Linked DNA regions of Homo sapiens: region 1 is linked to region 2. The links are contacts of gene promoters, found by promoter capture Hi-C in human tissues and cell types (Jung and others, 2019). All regions are on one chromosome and are shown on one strand. Each heading gives the region's core, a stretch centred on a gene start or on the middle of the fragment in contact. The rest is flanking DNA. Distances are from core to core; before and after follow the strand shown.

What was found. The method cuts DNA at HindIII sites, captures the fragments that hold promoters and counts their contacts. A contact is called where the count stands out against the background at its distance.
Region 1: a contact is called between a fragment that was not itself captured here and the fragment with the promoter of ADAM2 in region 2, in 1 of the 25 tissues and cell types used here (H1 embryonic stem cells).

Annotation. Positions count from the first base shown.
Region 1 is chr8:39,118,778-39,123,550 of GRCh38, reverse strand. The region is part of intron 2 of ADAM32 (ADAM metallopeptidase domain 32); the gene reads right to left. Among named protein-coding and RNA genes, the nearest start is that of ADAM32, 13 kb to the right of the region's middle. The HindIII fragment of the contact is 4,905 bases long and covers 519-4,773 here.
Region 2 is chr8:39,835,444-39,840,513 of GRCh38, reverse strand. It overlaps ADAM2 (ADAM metallopeptidase domain 2), which reads left to right and starts at 2,287. Exons shown (of 21, transcript NM_001464.5): 1 at 2,287-2,383; 2 at 3,302-3,378. The coding sequence starts at 2,329. The HindIII fragment of the contact is 9,732 bases long and covers 1-5,070 here.

The DNA of each region.
Region 1 (4,773 bases), core at 1,722-4,221, 720 kb after region 2:
AAGCAGTTTTTCTTGTAAAAATGAGCATGCAATATGGGAAATGAATTTGGAGGGAACCACAAGGAAGAATGTTATGGATTGAATTGTGCCCCCCGACCAAATCCATATGTTGAAAACCAAACCCCCAGTGTGGAGACAGGACCTTTAAGGAGATAGAGTTAAATGTGATCATAGAGGTATTTTTAGTTGTTCTAAAAATATATATGGAAATAAAAAGGACTTAGAATAGTCAAAGCAATTTTGGAAAAGATGAATAATGAAGGATTTACACTACCCAATTCCAAATCTTGCCCTAAAATGCACAATAATCAAAGCAATGAGATCTTGGTGCAAAGAAAGCCAGCTAGATAAATGGCAAAGACATGAAAGTCCAGAAATAAACCTTTACATTTTTATTTACTTGATCTACAAAGGTATCAAAACAATTCAGTGGGGAAAGTATAGTCTTTTCTACAAACAGTGCTGGGAAAGTTGGATCCACAGGCAAAAAAAACTGAACTTATATCCTGACCTCACACCATATACAAAAGTTTACTCAAATTGGCTCATAGACTATGAGCTAGTAGAAAACACAGAAGAAAATCTTTGTGAGCTTGGGTTAGGTAAAGACCTTACATTAGTCTGCTTAGGCTGCCATAATAAAATATTACAGGCATGGTGACATTAACAACAGAAATTTTAGGACCAGGTGTGGTGGCTCATGCCTGTAATCCCAACACTTTGGGAGGCCAAGGTAGGCAGACCACTTGAGGTCAGGAGTTCAAGACTAGCCTGGCCAACATGGCAAAACCCCATCTCTACCAAAAAATAGCCAAGCGTGGTGGCACATGCCTGTAATTCCAGCTACTTGGGAGGCTGATGCATGAGAATTGCTTGAACCTGGGAGTCAGAGGTTGCAGTGAGCCAAGATAGCACCACTGCACTCCAGCCTAGACAACAGAGGAAGACTCTGTCTCAAAACAAAAACAAAAACAGAAATGTTATTTTCTCACAGTTCTGGATGTTAGAAATCCAAGATAAATATGCTAGCAGGTTGGTTTCTGGTGAGGCCTCTCTTTACGGCGTGTAGGTAGCTCTTTTCTCACTATGTTCTCACATGGCCTTTTTTCTGTGTATGCATGGAGACAGACAAGGACCTCTTGTATCTCTTCCTCTTCTTATAAGGACACCAGTCCAATCAGATTAAGGTCACACCTCTATGATCACATTTAACTCTATCTCCTTAAAGGTCCTATCTCCATACTGGGAGTTTGGTTTTCAACATATGGATTTGGCGGGGGACACAATTCAATTCATAACATTCTTCCCTATGGTGCGCCCCCCAAATTCATTTCCTTCTTGCATGGAAAAGCCCCAAAGCCTTAACTCATTCTAGCATCAATTCCAAGTTCAAAATTTCATCTAAATGTCACTTAAATCAGGTATGGTTGAGATACAAGTTATGACTCATCCTGAGGCAAAATTCCTCTCCAGTTGTGAACCTGTGAAACCAGACAAGTTATGTGCTTCCAAAATACAATAGTAGAACAGGCATAGAATAGCTATTCCCATGCCAACAAGGAGAAACCAGAAAAAAAGAAAGGGGTGACAATCCCAACAAAGTCCAAAACCTAGCAAGACAAATTCCGTTAGATCTTAAGGTTCAAGAATACTCTTCTTTGACAGGATGCTCTACCCTGCTGGGCCCACTTGGACAGCAACTCTCCCATGGCCCTAGGGACTGGCCCCATCCCCTCAGCTCTGTAAAGCGGCTCTGCCCCCACAGCTCTGGGTGACAGCCTTGTTCCTGGGGTAATAAACAGTGACATCCTAGACTACTGAAACCAAGGAGGTGGCCCCACTCTCTGAAACCAAAGAGAATGCAGCCTTGCCTCCTGGGCCTGTAGCAGGAGTGGCAGCCCTGATGATCTCTGAATTGCTTTCAGGGTCATTCTTCTCTTTTTCTTTTTTTATTATACTTCAAGTTCTGGAGTACATGTGCAGAACATGCAGGTTTGTTACATAGGTATGCACGTGCCATGGTGGTTTGCTGCACCCATCAACCCGTCATCTACATTAGATATTTCTCCTAATGCTCTCCCTCCCCTAGCCCTCCACCCCCCGACTGGCCCCAGTGTGTGATGTTCCCCTCCCTGTGTCCATGTGTTCTCATTGCTCGACTCCTACTTATGAGTGAGAACATGCGGTGTTTGTGAAGAATGATGCATGTTTGAAGCCAGACAACTCTATCGTCCTATCCTGTAGAATCCCAGAAGTTAAACAGCCTTCCTTCATTCTATCCAATTTTCTCTGTTCCCTTTAGTTCCAGCTGGCAGTGTTTCTGCTGATGTAATCCCGTCTCTGATCCTGGCTTCACTTGACATGGCGGATTAAATCATGAGGAATCTTTTTATTGTCTGATTGTCCAGCTACACCTTTGGTGTTCTTTCTAAAACATCATTTCTCATTTTAAAAAATACAAAGTAGGCTGAAAATTTCTCAAATCTTCAAGTTCTTGTTCCTTTTTGCTAAATAATTCCTTCCATTTACCTCTCTTCTCTTGCATTTTGCATTTTCTATAAGCAGTGATGACAAAACAAGCCACATCTTCAGCATTTTGCTTAGAAATCTCCCCAGCTAAATACCCAAGGTTTTCCCCCACAATTTCTACCTTCTACAAAAGACTAGAACACAATTCAGCCAAGTTCTTTGCCACTTTTTAACAAGGATCTCCTTTCCTCCAGTCTCCAATAACATTTCTCATTTCTATCTGTGACCTCACTAGAAACACTTTTTTTTTTTTTTTTTTTGAGACGGAGTCTTGCTCTGTCACCCAGGCTAATGTGCAGTGGCCCAATCTCGGCTCACTGCAACCTCTGCCTCCTGGGTTCAAGCAATTCTCCTGCCTCAGTCTCCCGAGTAGCTGGGACTACAGGTGCCTGCCACCACGTCCAGCTAATTTTTGTATTTTTAGTAGAGACAGGGTTTCACCATGTTACCCAGGTTGGTCTTGAACTCCTGACCTCAGGTAATCTGCCCACGTCAGCCTCCCAAAGTGCTAGGATTACAGGTGTGAGCCACCGTGCCCGGCCCAGGAACACCTTTAATGTTCATATTTCTACCAGTTCTATTCTGTTCATAATGATATGTATATTCCCTAAGACGATAAAAGCTTTCTCTATAAGTCTTTTCTTTCTGATCCTTCATTAGAATTACCTTTAGCATCCATATTTCTACCAACAGTCCCTTCAAGGCAATCTAGGCTTCTTCTTAGCATGTACTTCACCAGTCTTCTAGCCTCTACCCTTCACTCAGTTCCAAATCCACTTCAACATTTTTAGGTATTTGTTACAGCAGCACCCCACTTCACAATACCAAAATCGGATTACTCTGCTCAAGCTACCCAAACAAAATGCCACAGACAAGGTGGCTTAACCAACAAAAATGTATTTTCTCACAGTTCTGGAGGCTGGAAGTCCAAGATCAAGGTGCCAACAGGGCTGATTTCTGGTGAGGCCTCTCCTCTTGGCTTGCAGACAGCTGCCTTCTTGTTGTATCCTTTCATGACCTTCAGTTTGTATGCATGAACCCCTAGTATATTTCCTCTTCTTATAAGTACATCAGTCCTATTAGATTAATTAAAGCCCTACCCTTGTGACAGCATATAACCTTAATTACCTCCATAAGGCCCTTGACCTCATGTAACCTTAATTACCTCCATAAGGCCCTATCTCCAAATATAGTCACATTAGGGGTTAGGGATTCAACATATGAATTTTGAGGGGCCACAGTTCAGTCCATAACAGAGTTCTTAGATACAAAACCAAAAACAAGATCCATAAAAAGAAAATTTGATAAACTGAATGTCATCAAAATTGAAAATGTTTGTGTTTGAGAAAACACCACTGAGAAAAATGAAAAAGCAAGCCAGAAATTGGGAGAAAATAATTCCAAATAGAGAAGTTGTGTCCAGAATATATAATGAATTCATAGAACTCAAAAATAAATAAACAACTAAATTTTAAAACAGGAGAATAATTTGAGTAGACATTCCACAGAAAAGGCATATAAATGGCTATTAGGCTCATGAAAAATACTCAGCATAATTATTCATTAAAGAAATGCAAATTGAAGCCACAATTACATACCACTACACTCCCACTACAATAGCTTTAATCTGAAAGACAGAAAACATCAAATGTTCACAAGTATGTGAAAAAACTGGAACACTCAAAAATTGCTGATGTGACATGTAAATTGGTACAGTCACTATGGAAAACAGTGTAGCAGTTTCTAAAAATGTTAAACACAAACTTATCATGTGCCCAGCAATTTCACTCCTAAGAATCTACCCAAGGGAAAATATATGTCCATACATGAATGTTCATAAAAGAATTATTCATAATACTCAATATCAGAAAACAATCCAAAGTCCATCAACTGGAGAATGAGAATGGATAAGCAAAATGTGGTATATCCACATATAAGATATAAAAATTAATAACCTGATAAATGCTACAAAATGGATAATCCTAAGTGAAAAAAGTCTAATACAAAAGCTTACATATTGCATGCTGCCATTTATATAAAATGCCCCTAAAGAGGCAAATACATAGAGATAGACAACAGATCAGCGGTTGCCAAGGGCTGGAGAAGAACTACAAATGTGCATAAGGGATCTTTTTAGGATTGATAGCAACATTCTACAACTGGACTGTGGTAATGTTTGCACAATTCTATTTATGTACTGCTGTAATAATTGTTGAGTTGTACCCTTAAAATGGGTGAACTCTA
Region 2 (5,070 bases), core at 1,038-3,537:
AAAATAGAAAAGTATTCTTAGTTGGACATAATAAAAGAACAAGAATTAATAAGGATATAAAATATTTGAAAATGTATTATCCAACTTGATCTAGTTGACATTTAAAGAATAATATAATCCACAGCTAAATAGTCTGCATTCTTTTAAAGTTTGCATTCTTTTAAAGTTCGAAACATTCAATGTAATGAACCATATAATGGGCAATGAATTTTCTCTTAGTGAATTGCAATGACTTGAAATTATTCAAAATACAATCTATGATCACAATGGAATTGAGTTAGACATCAATAAAAAAGTAATTAATACATGCTTAAATATGTGGCATTTAAATAACACCAATAAACATGTGGGGCAAAAAGAAATCATGATGAAAATTAGAAAACATTTAGAATTGAATATTAATGAAAGTAAAGTATATCAAAATAAAGTATAAGAATACAATGGTGAAGTTAAAGCAATGAATAGATAGAAATTTGGAAATACATGGAAATTTGTAGTTTAAAGGCATAGGTTAAAAGAAGAAATGTTTAAAATAAATAATATAAACTTCCAATCTTAGAAGCTAGAAAAGGAACATTATGCCCAAAGTAGAAAAAAGGAAAAGAACCCAAGAACAAAATCAACAAAGCAGAAAACATACAACAGAAAAAAATAAAGAAATCCAAAACCGAGTTCCTGTAAAACTTAATAAAAATTATACATTCCAAGACCTATTTACCCAGTATAAAGAGAAACATCACAAATTATCAACATTGAGAATGGAAGAAGAGATATGTCTGCAGGTGCTATAGACCTTAAAAAGTTGCTAGAGGAGAGGAAGTCATTATGAACAACTTTTGTCAATAATTTAACAACCCCAAAGAAATGGACAAATTCCTTCAGAAACATAACTTTCTCAAACCAACACGAAAAGAAAAAAATATGAATATTTTAAAGAAATTAGATAAAAAAGTAAATAAATCTTCTCATGAAGAAAACTCCAGGTCATAATCACTCCATTTCTAAATGCTAAGAAACATTAAAAGAATAAATATTCACAGCATTACACTATTTCAAAGATTAAACGAAGAGATAACATTTCTTAATTTCTTTTATGAGGGCAGCATGTCTTGATATAAAAGTTGGTAAGTTCATTACAATGAAGGAACATTACAGACAACACAACAACACAACAAGGCATTGATGTGTACGAAGTGGAATTTTCATATACTTCTGGTGAGAGTATAAATTAGTACAGTCTTGGAAAACTTGTCGGAAGTATCTACCAACACATACCCTGTGATCCGACAACTTCACTCTAGAAATATACACAGTAGAAATCCTTACTTATTACACCAAAAGGCATGTAGAAGAATGTTTATAGCTAAATATTATTTTTAATAGCTGGAACAATAAACAAACAAAATATTCATTAACAGTAAAATGGAAACACAAGTGGTGTTATATTTAATGAATTTGTAATATACACCAATGAGGATAAAACAGAACTATTGCTTTGTATGAACCTTACAATCATCCTATTAAAAGAACCCAGACATGAAAGAGTAGATGGTGATTGCTTCTACTTGCGAAAAGTTCAAAAACAGACAAAACGAATCTTTGGTTGTTTAGAAGTCATGGTTGTGAGGTTGGAATCTGGGGATTTGGGTGGTTCTTTTTCATTTCTTCATCGTGGTACTAGTTACGCTGTTTTTTTTTTCCACTTGAATATTAATTGACCTGTGAACTTATGATTTATTATATACTTTTTTTCGTTTTTTGTTTCGTTCTTTTTTTTTTTTTTTTTTTTTTTTTTGACGGAATTTCGCTCTCTCACCCAGGCTGGAGTGCAGTGGTAAGGTCTTTCTGCTCACTGCAACCTCTGCCTCCTAGGTTCAAGCGATTCTCCTGCCTCAGCTTCCCGAGTAGCTGGGATTTCAGGCACCCGCCACCATGCCTGGCTAATTTTTTTTTGTATTTTTAGTACAGACGGGGTTTCACCATGTTGCGGAAACTGGTCTCGAACTCCTGATACGTGTTTATATATATTCAATTGAAATTTTACTTAAGAAGTGTTTATAAATCTTCCTGTTCCTCAGCTGTTGGAAGTGATTTTGTTGTTGCTGTTGCCTTAATTAGGCATCACGTCCAGTGGAGTGCTTGTCCTGCAAGAGACAGGGCTCAGGAGCTCGCACGTTCCACAGCGCACCACACCCAACCTCAGCCCACCTGGGCTCTCCCAGCCGCCTACCTCTTCCAGGCTGCGTGGCCGGGGCGTCATCTCGCGCTTCCAACTGCCCTGTAACCACCAACTGCCATTATTCCGGCTGGGACCCAGGACTTCAAGCCATGTGGCGCGTCTTGTTTCTGCTCAGCGGGCTCGGCGGGCTGCGGATGGACAGTAGTAAGCAGAAAAACCCCTCCTCTGGCCTTTTGGGACCCTCAGCGCTACTCTCCCTTTGCCTCCAAGTTACATTGACATCCCTGGGAGGATGCTTTCCTGAGGGGTTTCCAACTCAGCAATTCCAAGCTCATCCCCGACATTGCCGCCTTCCCCACCCAAAATCCACGTAGAATAAGGGCTTTCCCACACGTCCTGGAAACCTAGGAAAGATAAGATAGGAGGTCCTAGGCCTTAAGAGGTTGCTTCAAAATTGTAGTTTCAGATCCTGCTTTGCATTTTTCACGACAGTGAAAGTTGAGACCCAACTTCTGTACTCTCTAGTTGAAGAGTCCAGAGTGAGTTAATTTGTCCTGAGGGGCTTGAACCTATTGACCCAAGGTTACCAGATCCTACCTACAGGGCAATACTCCTAAAGCAATACACCTACTTCTTTTTTAAAAAAATATGGCCGGGCACGGTGGCTCATGCCTGTAATCCCAGCACTTTGGGAGGCTGAGGAAGGCGTATCACGAGGTCAGGAGATCGAGACCATCCCGGCCAACATGGTGAAATCCCCCTCTACTAAAAATATAGAAAATTAGCTGGGGGTGGTAGTGCGTGCCTGTAGTCCCAGCTGCTGGGGAGGCTGAGGCAGGGGAATCGCTTGAAACCGGGAGGCGGAGGTTGCAGTGAGCAGAGATCTCACCACTGCACTCCAGCCTGGGCCTGGGCGACAGAGTGAGACTTCGTCTCAAAAACAAAAAAAAAAACAGAAAAACAGAAAAAAAAACCTCCTTGTATTTTTAGAAAGAAATGGGAAGATAATAAAAATGAGAAGCAGCGTATAGAATAGAGATTAGAGATTTAGATGAAAAACTCATAAAACACGCTCTGAAATGATGGGCATTGTTCTAATAAAACATTTTGCACATTTTGCAGATTTTGATAGTTTACCTGTGCAAATTACAGTTCCGGAGAAAATACGGTCAATAATAAAGGAAGGAATTGAATCGCAGGTAATGAATCACTAACAGTATTTACAAATTTAAAATGATGTAAAGATTTTGTTTCTAAGAAGTTAATCTGCCATTTTTCATTCATGCACACCTGTTGAATTTTATATTTATACCAAATTTTCCCTGAATGGAAAAGCCCTTTTGAAAATGAACCAGGATCAACAATGTTTCACAGAAATAATGGTGCAGTGATGCTGGTTATCAAAGCCCCAAGTCCATTTTCTGAATCTGTCTTCCTCTTGGATGTCTTTGAATAATCATTGGCTTGATTGTTCTAGAGATTCTGTTCTCACTCACCGTTCAGGCTGTATTTGGAGGAATTTTTTGTCATTGTTGCTAAGTAAGCCTTGGCTTGCTTATATGGGATGATGATCACTTGAATTAATGATGTGTTATATTAATGATTTTTTTAGCCCTGATTGCGAATATGTTAATGATTAGAACTCTTTCTTTCATGCTATTTTAGATTATTTTAGTTCAGAATTATTACTCTCTTTTTAAAATTTGAATTTAAAATCTTCTTATCATTTTCACTAAGTTCTAGAATCCATTTCTGAAGTGGAATGTGGTTTCTTGAGACATCAATTTTTTTTTTTTGGTTTGGTAGCAGATGTTCTGGTAATTTAAATGCAAACATTTCCTTAGCATATATCCATTTGTCATCCTAATACAGACATTATAGCTTAAGATGTTATTTAAATCATTTTTAAAGGAATGCATATCTATATATCTATTACTAAAACAAATCATTTAAATAGAAAAAAGCAGTGAGGCTTTTAACAATATTTTATGAAACATTTTTAATGTAAAATTATTATGGAGATGTTAATAATAGTAGAAAATAAGCAGAGAATCTATTTGGAGAGAAGTATTTCAAACAAGAATAACTTGATTGTTATAAGATAGTTATTTGCAATAAGTAAAAAAAAATGCCCATTTTCAACTGTCAAATTCATGAGGAAAAAATTGTCTATTTTGTTAATGTCTGTATTCTTCTTGCCTAGAACAGTGTCAGATACAAATGCTATGTGTATTTATGCTTTTGTGCACTAATCAGGCTCATTATTTTCTCATTTGTAAATGAGAAACTTGGAATAGCTGGTCATCAAAAAGTTCCTTTTTGATTTTGTGGTTACCAAAACCAAAACAAAGCACCACCACCAACAAAAAAATAGTGCAAGGGATAATTGTTGACCGTCAGTTGCTTAGGGAGTTAATGGGAGTTAAGGAGTTAAAGGGAGTTAAATACACAATTAGCATAATAGCCTAGTTTATTTTTAAAATACTGTAATGAATTAACAGTATTTTTAAAACAAACTAGGCTATTATGCTAATTAATTCAACAAATACTATAAACATAATATGAAACTATATATTTTGAATTATTACAGTTAATAAAGGCTAGAAACCATAAGATTATTCAACCTAAAATTACTAGATTTTTTTTTTTTTTTGAGACGGAGTCTTGCTTGTTGCCCAGGCTGGAGTGCAGTGGCGCAACCTCGGCTCACTGCAAGCTCCGCCTCCCAGGTTCACAGCATTCTCCTGCCTCAGCCTCCTGAGTAGCTGGGACTACAGGCACCTGCCACCAAGCCCAGCTAGTTTTTTTGTATTTTTAGTAGAGACGGGGTTTCACCGTTGGTCAGGATGGTCTCGATCTCCTGACCTCCTGATCCACCTGCCTCGGCCTCC